Linked DNA regions of Homo sapiens: regions 2 and 3 are each linked to region 1. Evidence: promoter capture Hi-C in human tissues and cell types (Jung and others, 2019). All regions are on one chromosome and are shown on one strand. Each heading gives the region's core, a stretch centred on a gene start or on the middle of the fragment in contact. The rest is flanking DNA. Distances are from core to core; before and after follow the strand shown.

Evidence for each region. Contacts are between HindIII fragments. The study calls those that stand out against the background at their distance.
Region 2: a fragment that was not itself captured here is called in contact with the fragment with the promoter of CCKAR in region 1 in 4 of the 25 tissues and cell types used here (H1 embryonic stem cells, aorta, lymphoblastoid cells and 1 more).
Region 3: a fragment that was not itself captured here is called in contact with the fragment with the promoter of CCKAR in region 1 in 3 of the 25 tissues and cell types used here (IMR-90 fibroblasts, aorta and liver).

Annotation. Positions count from the first base shown.
Region 1 is chr4:26,487,908-26,491,763 of GRCh38, reverse strand. It overlaps CCKAR (cholecystokinin A receptor), which reads left to right and starts at 1,280. Exons shown (of 5, transcript NM_000730.3): 1 at 1,280-1,608; 2 at 2,280-2,531. The coding sequence starts at 1,497. The HindIII fragment of the contact is 14,703 bases long and covers 1-3,856 here.
Region 2 is chr4:26,814,806-26,818,651 of GRCh38, reverse strand. It overlaps a transcript of TBC1D19 not described here. Among named protein-coding and RNA genes, the nearest start is that of STIM2-AS1, 44 kb to the left of the region's middle. The HindIII fragment of the contact is 4,799 bases long and covers 1-3,846 here.
Region 3 is chr4:26,832,863-26,836,702 of GRCh38, reverse strand. It overlaps a transcript of TBC1D19 not described here. Among named protein-coding and RNA genes, the nearest start is that of STIM2-AS1, 26 kb to the left of the region's middle. The HindIII fragment of the contact is 7,646 bases long and covers 1-3,840 here.

The DNA.
Region 1 (3,856 bases), core at 31-2,530:
CAGGACCCTGAGATGGCCCCCCTCTCTGATCTCACGTCCTGCTGTTTGCCTCTCACTCACTCCTACTTCTATCTATTTGTACCTCAATGGGGCCACACTCATTCCCACCTCAGGGCCTTTGCACTTGCTGTTACCTCTGCTAAAAGTGCTCCTCCTTTTGCCTGGGAGAAGCTGTCTTGGGATCTTCACAAGACTTTGTCCTTCTTGTGGTTCAGTCTCAGATCACAGTCCCCTCCTTAAGAGACCTCTCCTGACTACCCCTTCTAAATCAGCAGCCCCAGGCCAGGTGCAGTGGCTCACGCCTGTAATGCCAACACTGGGAGGCCAAGGCAGGAGGATTGCTTGAGCTCAGGAGCTTGAGACCAGCCTGGGCAACATAGCGAGACCTCCTCTCTTCTAAAACTAAAAAAATCAGCTGGGCTTAGTGGTGTGTGCCTGTAGTCCCAGCTACTCAGGAGGCTAAGGTAGGAGGATTGCTTGAGCCAGGGAGCAAGGCTGCAGTGAGCCATGATCGCGCCACTCCACTGCAGCCTGGGGAACAGAGCAAGACCCTGTCCCCGCCCCCCAAAAAATCAGCCCCTAATCTGTTTGTATACATCACATCTCCCTGCTTTACTCCCTTTGTAGTACTTACTACCTGAAATAATTCTGCTCATTATTTGCTGACATGCTAGAAAAGTGCCTGGCAAATGATTGACTCTCAATGAAGATGTGCTGAATGCAAGGCTTCATGAATGAAGAGGAAATCTCACTAACGTCTTTTGTAATAAGGACCCAGGTACCTATGTTCAAAAGTGCCTCAATCCTAGTTAACAAGGGCAGAGACCACGAGAAACAACACTGTGTTTAGTAGCAACTTAACAACCAGCCAGCAGTTCTGTCCACACACACACCACCGGGCATGGTTCCAAAGCTAAAAAGGCACTAATTGCTTTTCTATAAGGAGGTAGAACACAGTCCCTCCGTGTTCTTTAGGCCTGATGGTCTGCATTATCGGATCTGTTACCGTGTTAATTGTTCCTGTCTCACACAGCCGGTTTGGGCTTTCTTCTGCATATGTCTGGGATGGTGACGGGTTCCTATATAGAGGAGTACTGGGGAAGCCTCTGTGTGTGTGTGTGTGTCCGTGCATATGTACACATGTGTGTAAAAAGCAGCCACACGCTGAGAATGGTTAACGGGTAGCCAGGCTGTCTGTACTCAGGGCCCTAAGACTGGCCCAGGAAAGGGCCGGGGGAGGTGGGGCGGGGTGAAGGTGGAGCGGGCTTGGCTTGTGCTCACTGCCTTTTCCACAACAGGAGTACAAATGCTGGAGTGAGTGAGGTGAACTCAAGTCGCCTTTAGGAATGGCTGAAAAAGCCCACACCTGGAAATCACTCCCTCCCTGCTCCTCCACGGCAGGTTGCATCTGCGAGACGCTTCGGTCATTAGAGGAATGAGCCGGGAGTGAGCAATTCACCAGCTCTCCAGCACTTGGTGGAAAGCAGCAGGCAAGGATGGATGTGGTTGACAGCCTTCTTGTGAATGGAAGCAACATCACTCCTCCCTGTGAACTCGGGCTCGAAAATGAGACGCTTTTCTGCTTGGATCAGCCCCGTCCTTCCAAAGGTAAGTGTCGGAAGCTGTTATTTTAATTCAGGAAACTATTGAGTTGTGGGAGAAATCAGCAAAGGCAAGGCTGATAAAAAATATATATAACCAAGTCATTGTGAGACAAGGCTAGATAAAGTCATATGTTCAGAAGTTTGGAGAAGAGATTAAAAAGCAGAATAGAGTCAAATATTCTTATTGTCCCCCATGGGGGAGTTGGGCATTCATGAATAGGACTTGGGGGAACAAAAGCAGGGGAGGAAAAGCTGAGTGAAGCAAGAGGGACTACAAGTGTCAAAGCCTGAACTTACAAGCACAGCAGAAAAGGTGTTGTCACCATGCAGCTGTTTTCTTTTCTTGGGGGGAAACCCAGCATGAAGTGATTAAAGTGAAATAATGCTTAGCAGCCAGGAAAGAAAGTGATCACTGTTCACTTGAGGAGCTTTGTTCTTAAGAAAAAGTGGTTCCCTGAGTGATCCTTTAACAAACCAACCTTCTAAAAAGAAAATAATTCAGTCTCTGCTTTCCTCAATTTGTTTCCGCAAAATGTTGCCAGGACAGGAATCGTGGGTCCAGTGATGTACACCCCGGTGGGGGGAAAATCGGCAGGAATTCACCCTTGGCTTCGGTTTTAGCATTCTGCTGTCATCACCTCCATCCCTCCGTCTTGCTCCTGTTTCTCTCTGCAGAGTGGCAGCCAGCGGTGCAGATTCTCTTGTACTCCTTGATATTCCTGCTCAGCGTGCTGGGAAACACGCTGGTCATCACCGTGCTGATTCGGAACAAGCGGATGCGGACGGTCACCAACATCTTCCTCCTCTCCCTGGCTGTCAGCGACCTCATGCTCTGTCTCTTCTGCATGCCGTTCAACCTCATCCCCAATCTGCTCAAGGATTTCATCTTCGGGAGCGCCGTTTGCAAGACCACCACCTACTTCATGGGTAAGTTGCTGCTGGTGACTCTTTCTGGAGCTTGCCCCAGACCCCACTCAGCCCCAGACCTTCCCAAACCTCTGACAATCACAGCAAAGGAGCCCTGCTGAGGGCTGAATCACAGAACATCAGGCTGTGCATGGCTGTGTGCACGGACATTGGTGCTGGCTTGACAGTCATCCTTATACGTTCCCCACAAGTCGGTCCCCATCATCCATGTTGGAGGTCAGTTTCTAAGAGTGAAATAAATTGATAGGAAAACACAGGGGCAGTTGATTTTGCTTGCTTCTATTTGAAGGGAAGAGGGACTTGCTTGCTTCTGTTTGAAGTCAGAAGTGACTTTAAGCTGCTCTATCCCTTTCTGGAAGCTGTTGACTGTGTCCTGATCTATACACAACTTGAGTCCTGGCTTCTAGGGAGGGTGAGGATGATGGAGGAGGGTTCTTTGCAGTTGTTTCTTTTGTTTTCTTAGGGAACAGGGGCTATTTGAAAACCAGTTCTATCGCAGTTTCAGATTCTCTTCTCAGGATTCACTTCCCAGCCTGTTCTCCCCAAAGCTGGGGCCATCTCTGGCAGAAAGAGAGAGAGAGAGAGGTCTCTGCCCCTAGATGAGGAGTTGAATTTGCTCCTGGGGGCTATGGGGTCGCTAAGCTGACCCTGATTGGCTGAGATATATAGCTCTTTGCCTATGCCAAACAAAAATGATGATAATGAAAATCATAAGAGCTAAATTTTTTTAGCGCTTTTATGCACCCCATGTGGTACTAAGTGCTTTGCCTTCCATGATCTTACCTTATCTCCCAACCACTCTATGAAGTAAATGCAATGATTCTTCCTTGTCTCCCTAAGGAGGAAACAGAGGCACAGAGAGGTCCATAATGTGCCTAGAACCACACAGATGGTAAGCAACAGAGCTGAGATTTGAGTCCAGATTTGTAGCCACACAATGGTGAGCATGATACCTCAGTTTGCCAACTGCTGTGGTTCTCTTAAAGTTGAACAAAAAAACACATTTCTTGGTCCCCTCTGGGTGCCAGATTGCCTAGTCCCTTGCCCTTTCTGAGAATTAGTTGGGAGAAGGGCAGAGATGGGAAATAAGAAGGGAGTTATTTTTTGTTCTGACCCAAGCCTTGCAGAATATGCAGAACTGAGTTAGGCTAGGGCAGTCTTCAATGACCAGAAAGCCTTATAAGTCCTCATTTTTCCCAGTTGAGGAAGTGGGATTCCACACTGACAAAATGATGGTGAATTACTGACCCTCGTGCCACCAAAAACCAAGAATGTGTCAATCCATGTCCAAGTCCTCTGAAAAAAAAAAAAAAGACAAAACTTAC
Region 2 (3,846 bases), core at 811-3,310, 330 kb before region 1:
TGTGGTAAATGTTAACATTTGGGGAATACGAGTAAAGAATCTGTACTCTTCTTGCATCTTTTATATGTCTGAAATTATGTCAAAATTTTACATTGAGGCCAGCCGCGGTGGCTCACATCTGTAATCCCAGCACTTTGGGAGGCCAAGGCAGGCGGACTGTTTGAGCCCAGGAGTTCGAGACCAGCTTGGGCAACATGGTGAGACCTTCCCTTCTCCCTGGCAACTCCCACCCCCATCTCTACAAAAAATACAAAAAATTAGCCAGGCATGGTGGTGCATGCCTGTAGTTTCAGCTATTCAGGAGGCTGAGGAAGGAGAATCATTTGAGCCCAGCAGGACAAGGCTACGGTGAGCACTGATTGTGCCACTGCACTCCAGCCTGGACAACAGAGCAAGACCCTGTCTCAAAAATAAATAAACAAGTAAATAAAAATAAAAATTGAAAGAAAAAATTCCAACACCGTTTGAAGATGTGTTCTCCAAAGCAGCTTTGAACTTGTTTTTTTGTGTTGTGGCAGTACACACAGTGGCCCAGAGTTGGCACTACAAAAAGCAGAGCCCCATTCACATGGCAGGTGCCTGGACTTCAAACCACACCCCCACAGTATCCCAGCTGGAGAACTGGGACTTTGTCTTAGAATACTATTCATATATATATATATATATATATTTTTTTTTTTTTTAAATGGAGTTTCCACTCTTGTTACCCAGGCTGGAGTGCAGTGGCATGATCTTGGCTCACTGCAACCTCTGCCTCCTGGGTTCAAGAGATTCTCCTGTCTCAGCCTTTCAAGTGGCTGGGATTATAGGCACGCACCACCACGCCCGGCTAATTTTTGTATTTTTAGTTGAGACGGGGTTTCACCATGTTGGCCAGGCTGGTCTTGACCTCCTGACCTCAGGTGATCCGCCCACCTCAGCCTCCCAAAGTGCTGGGATTACAAGTGTATGCCACCATGCCCAGCCTAGAATACCATATTTTAGACCCTAAACAAAGTATGAGACCAGTCAGAAAATGAGTGAAATTCAGCTGTTATTGAATCCCTGATTGATTCTGTGCTGGGCACCATGTTGTGCACTTTCCCTCAGCTAAACACTTCCAAACCCCACAGCAACCTGGGGGAGACTGCCTAGCTTCACAGATGCAGGAAAAAAGTGAGTTGTAAAAAAAGTTGAACAGCTCCTCCAAGGGCACGCAACTACCAAGTGGGCAAGGTGGGATCCAAAACCAGCTCTAAATAACTGAAAACAACACTAATGCCTATTAGTGGGGGTTGGTTAAAGGACGTTTGTTGATCCCTTCTGGGGAATATTAAACAGCTGTGTAAAAGTATGAGCTGTTGCTGCCTAAGCTGCCGGCGGGGTGCGGGAGAGGGGGTATCAATGACTGATCATTGAGTCAAGATAGCCAGGCAGCATTCAGTTTGGTTGTGGATTCCATTTAGGCATGTGGGTATGAGTTTAATTTCTACAAGAGTGTATGTGCAAAACTATATGCATACACACACAATTTGTGTTAACAGAAAGGTCAAAGACAAGAGGTCTCTCAAGCTTTAGAGTAAAGAGCATAAGCATCAGCCGGTGAACTTGTTAAAATGCCTGATAGTACATCGCTCTGCTCCTACTAAAGTAGCATAGTGAGGGACCCAGAAGCACGTAGAATCTAGAAGCCCAAAATTCAAGTTATTTTCAGCGGTTTTGTCTCAGAGAGTGGGGATTTTTATTTTTAACTTTAAAAAAATTTCATATGATTGGAATATTTTTGAACAGGCAGGCACCACTTTTATACTACTAAAATGTAGTACACCCAGCTTTTTTTCCATTCTTTAATCTGGAACAGTTCCTCATTCTTTGTCTTTCATGATATTGACATGTATTAGGTTTGTGCAAAAGTAATTGTGGTTTTTGCCATGAAAAGTCATGGTAAAAACTGCAGCTATTTTTGCACCAACTTAATATGTAGAATGCCCCTCATCCTGGGTTTGTTTGATGTTTTCTCATGATTGAATCCAAGTTATTTATTTTTAGCAGGAATCCCACAGAGGTACCTGGTGTTGGTTTATCACATTATCAGGTATATTAACTTTGATCATTTGATTGACGGGATTTCTGCCAGGTTTTTCCACTGTAAATTTACGATTTTCCCCCTTTGGAATTTATATGCATGTTGTGGGGTGATATTTGGGGATTATGCAAATATCCTGTTTTTCATTAAACTCTCCCACTTGTTTTCTTATCCACTGAAAACCTCTGCCAGAATCAGTTATTTTTACAATGGGTTACCCAATGATTGGACTTCTTTTGTGAAAACATTTCACAGTGCAGAATCTTCGTAGGTTTGTGGAGGAGACAGGCAAATCACAGATAATTGCGGTGTAATGTAGCAATTGCTCCATAAAAAAAGTAAAGTGAGGGATGGCAAGCTACAAGCCCCTGGGTAAAATCTAGCCCAAAGCCTGTTTTTATAGGTAAAGTTTTGTTGGAACACAGCCATGCCCATCTTCTCCTTACCTAGTGTCTGTGACTGCCTTTGAACTACAATGGCAGTTGAGAGGTATAACCAAAGGCACGTGATTCACAAAGCCTTATAGGGTTGCTCCCTGGCCCTTAGAAAAAAGTTTCCTGACCCTTGATACAAGGCCTGTGGAGAGAACTCCTCTGAATGGTGCTTCAGTTCTGTGGAACTCACACACAGGGAGCATTCATTCGCTCTGCAGGCCCTCGGGGGGTATTCCAAGGCAGGAGTGTTCCTGAACTAGAACCTAGTCCTATGTAGGCTTTCCCATTTAGGTTAATACGCACACTACAAAGGAGCCATGCCATCTCTTACTTAAAAGAGATTAACTCTGTTTTGTTTAGGTGTAACTATACATTACCGACAAGACAGGAAATTATACCAAGTCAGAATGACTAAATACAATTACTGTAATTAGCCTGACCAAAATCTTTTCATGTCAAGGCACTGACGAGTCCTGTCAGAATGGCCTCTTTTTTTCTAGTACATATTTTGTACAACAAAACTCTGGAGAGGAAGAGCATTTAAACCATTCTCAGAGTGTGTAACATGAACACAGAACCTGTTTTGGCACCAGCCTGGTAAGGGTTATTGGGGAGGTCAAGAGTATCAGTTATTTACATGTGAAATCATGTTTATTTCCAGAATGTGTCTTGTTCACTAAAGTTCCCAACAGGATTAGGCTCAACTGAATGCATTGCTCAGAAAGCTGTGTTTTGTGGTAGTAAGAGGAAGTTCTGGAAAATCAATTAAGAACTCAAGAGTAACTTAATCTTGTTGATTGTTCTCTTCTATGGGGAACACCCATGTAATGCTAGAATGGCCAGCTCCAGGAAAGATCAGCATTTTGGGCCAAGCTTCTGTGATTAAAGGAAAGGAGAGAGTTAAATATATTTCTGGTGAATTTTGGCCACAAAAAGTTGATCTGGATTTTTCTAAAGCCAAAGCCACAATTTCTTATTGGCAAATGCCATCCACAGCAGATTCCTGTTTGACACAGTGTTGGGATGAGAAGGAGAAGATAATTTTAATGAGTGATATAGTTGTTATTAAAAATTATTGCTTTATGCTCTAGGGAAGAATGTGACTTTATTTATTTGGTTTTTTTTTTTTTTGAGACAAGGTCTCACGCTGTCACCCAAGCTGGAGTGCAGTGGTGCAATCATAGCTCACTGCAGCCTCAACTTCCTGGGTCCCGGTGATCCTCCCACCTCAGCCTCCCACATAGCTGGGACAACAGGCGCGTGCCACGACATCCAGATAACTTTCTGAAATTTTGTAGAGACGAGGCTCTTGCCATGTTGCTCAGGCTGGTCTTGAACTCCTGGCCT
Region 3 (3,840 bases), core at 833-3,332, 340 kb before region 1:
TCCCTGCAACCCCTGCTGCTGCTCCAGCAACTTCCAGCAGTCTTCACTCTCAAAACTAGAGCAGGACTCTTCTCTCTGCTGCTGCCTTTGGATTTTCCTCTGGACCCAGCTGGCAAGGGAGCCTAGGAAATGTAGTTTTCAGACACCTGTTCGTACCTCTACAGAGCATAATATAGAAAGGCAGCTGGGGGTGCAGGACAACAGCTCAAAAGCTGGACAAGGGCCCAGTACAAACACTACATATTCCCTGAAGTGTTTCTTGATTCCCACCTCCCTCTGCCCCTCCAACACCATCAGCTTCAAAAGACTTCTCCCTCTTCTCAATTTTGTCCATGGGTCTCTTTGAATTCATTTAAAATACATTTGTTGAGGAACCCCTCTGTGCCAGGCACTGTGCTAGAAGCTGGAAATACAACTATGAGTAAGACAGACTTGGCTGCCATTCTTCTAGAACTTCATGGAGTTTAAAGTCTAGTTGAGGAGACGTACAATTAAATAAGCAATTACAATGTAGCTTGATGAGCATTAAGACAGGGGAGGTCGAAGTGTCAGGGCACATAAGAATGACGTTTAAACCAAACTGGAAGGGTCAGGAAGTGCTTCCAGAGGAAGCCAAAGTCTGAAGCCAAAGAGGCAAGGGCCAGGGAGAAATGCTCTTGATAGAAACAAAATCATGTCCAAAGGCCCAGAAGTGATAGAGAGAGAGAGAGAGAGAGAGAGAGAGAGAGCACTTCACATGCAAGAACCAGAATGCATGTGGTATAGGCAGCATACGTATTTTGAAGGGGAGAACAGGAAAGAAGAGAATGGGGAGAGATAATGGCTAGGGAAGAAAATAGGCATCACAGAACACAAGCCTGGTGAGCCACATCAAAGTTTGAACTTTACCCTAAGGACAATGGGAAGCCATTGAAGGTTTATAGTAGAAACGTGACATGATCAGGTTTTCATTTAGGAAGTTCATGTTGACTTCAGGGCAAAGAATAGGGTGAAGGGAGGCAGGGCAACTATTTAGGAAGGTGCCAGAGAAATCAAGAATAGTGGCTGAGACTAGGTTATGGCAATGGAAAGAAATGGTAGATTCGAGAGGTGTTCAGGAAGGAGAGTGGATGTGTGCACCTGGGAAACGGAGTCAAGGATGGCTCCTACGATTCTGCCTTGCCTTTATGAACTGCATGAACAGAAGTGACACTGCTGAGATCGAAAATGTAGAAGGGTGAGCTTTTGGAAGTGTACTCATTTCTTATTGCTGCTGTAACAAATTATCACAAACTTAGTGACTTAACAGAAATTTATTATCTTATAGGTCTGGATGTCAGCTGTCCATGTGGGTCTCACTGGGCTAAAATCAAGGTGTTGGAATGGCTGCTTCCTTCTGCAGGCTCTAGGGGAGAATCCATTTCCTTGTGTTCTCCGGCTTCTACAGGCTACCTGCATTCCTTGGCTCATGGCCCCTTCCTCCATCTTCAAAGCCAGTAGAGCTGCATCTTCTAAACTCTCTCTATGATTCTGACACTCCTGCCTCCCTCTTATAAGGACACAGGTGATTACATTGGATTCACTCACATAATCCAGGATTATCTTCCCATCAAGATCCTTAACTTATTCACATTTGCCAAGTAAGTCCCTTTTGCCACATAAGACAACATATTCACAAATTTCAGTGATTAAGAGGTGGACATCTTTGGAGGCCATTATTCTGCCTACCACAGGGAGTAAGGGCTAAGGGCTCAAATATCAGTTCAGTTCTACACACATAGAGCTTTGTGAATATGGCACATCCAGGTGGTGATGCTGAGTAGAAAGCATGATAGCTGGGTCTGAACCTTGGGAGCGGGATTTGCTTGACCATCTAAATGTGAGCATCATCAAAGTATAGATGGAATTGAAAACATGAACGTAGATGGGGTCTCCCTGGCAAAATAGTTAAGAGTGAAAAGAAAAGAGGAAAAACCTTGAGAAACATCATCCCTCAATGGATGAGGAGAGAATCCTATGAAGAAGAATGAAAACGAGTAGCCAGAAAGGCAGGAAGGACTGGGGGTGAGTAGTTTTGGTCTCTCTTCAGGACCCCAGAGTCTCCCATCTCCACTTCTTTGCACATCTTTCCTCAAACCAGACCTTCACTATATTGGTGTGTGCACCACCCCCGCCCCCCATAGCCACCAGCCCAGATTGACGATTGTCTTTTATGCCCAATTTAAAATTCCAGGAGAGAAAATCTGATGCCCCCAGCTTGAGTCTAGGCATTGATCCAACCCCCAACACTGTCCATGATACATAATGGGCACTCAATATTTGTTAAATGAATGAATATTTGTTGAATTAATGAAGTCAGAGATTCACCTGTGGCCTAACCAGCTATGACCACAGGGCATTATCATAGAGCACACACATGGCTCTGGGAGACCAACCTGTATTAGTCCATTCTCACATTGCCATAAAGAACTACTGAGTAATTTATAAAGAAAAGAGGTTTAATTGGCTCATGGTTCTGCAGGCTGTACAGGAAGCATGGCTGGGGAGGCCTCAGGAAACTTACAATCATGGCAGAAGGCAAAGGGGAAGCAGGCACATCCTACATGGCTGGAGCAGGAGGAAGAGAAGGAAGGGGGAGAGGGGCCATACACTTATAAACAACCAGATCTCATAAGAACTCACTGACTATCACGAGAACAACAGGGGTAACTCTGCCCCCATGATCCAGTTGCCTCCCACCAGGCCCTTCCTCCAACATCGGGGATTTCCATTTGACATGAGATTTGGGCAGGGACACAGATCCAAACCATATCACCACCTCTGAGTGGGGAAGATTTCTACATAAAAGTATAGGCTGAGCAGACAGCCCAACATATAGCCACAGCTCTAAAGCCTACTTGGTATAATTCCTAGCACAAGGCAGTCATCAGTAAATCTCTGTGAACCCACCTACTGGCTGGGGCTTTGGGAACTCCCTGGCTAGCCACTAAGAGGCAACAGAATGTTTAGCGACACATTGTGTGGAAGTAACAAACCTGCACAAGTTCCATTATCCATGGCAGCTTTTGTAGCACAAGCTTCCTTTACGAACAGCTCCATCTGCTTTAAGATGCTTTAGAAACATTTCAGCTCTAAGAAGCTCCTCTTTGCTTAAGATTTAAATCTCACCTTTACTGCTACTGACTGAATGATTCCATTTATTTGACATTCTGGAAAAGACAAAACTATAGGGACAGTGGTTGCCAAGGGCTGGGGAGTGGCCAGAGGAGTTGACTACCAAAGAGTGCAAGGGAATTTTTGTGTTGGTAGAAATATGACTTCATGACTCTATGTATTTATCAAAACTCATAGAAATATACACTAAAAAGGGTGAATTTACTGCTCCTAAATTATACCTCAATAAAGCTGACGCACACTCCCCAAAAAAGGACCCCTTTCTTCCTGCTGATTCTTGTGTATGCATTGCATCCTTGATTTTTCTGTTGTGCCGTCTTCTAGCTTGGCACTTGTGAAGTCTGATTCCTCATGTCAACCTAAATATATCTGTTACCTGGCAATGTAAAGTCTTTCTTCGCTTGTCTGTGTGTGTGTCTGCAACTACGATTTCACCTCCTTGATGGCAGTGGGCAGAGCTTACTTACATTTTGATTGTTTTCCTTTTGTTGACTCAGCACTCACTGATTTTTATGTGGTATATTTGTTTTTTGTTTTGTTTTGTTTTTGGTTTTTTGAGACAGGGTCTTGCTCTCTCATCCAGGCCAGAGTGCGGTAGCTCAATCTCGGCTCACTACAACCTCCACCTCCTGGACTCAAGCAATTTTCTTGTCTCAGCCTCCCTAGTAGCTGGGATTACAGGCACAT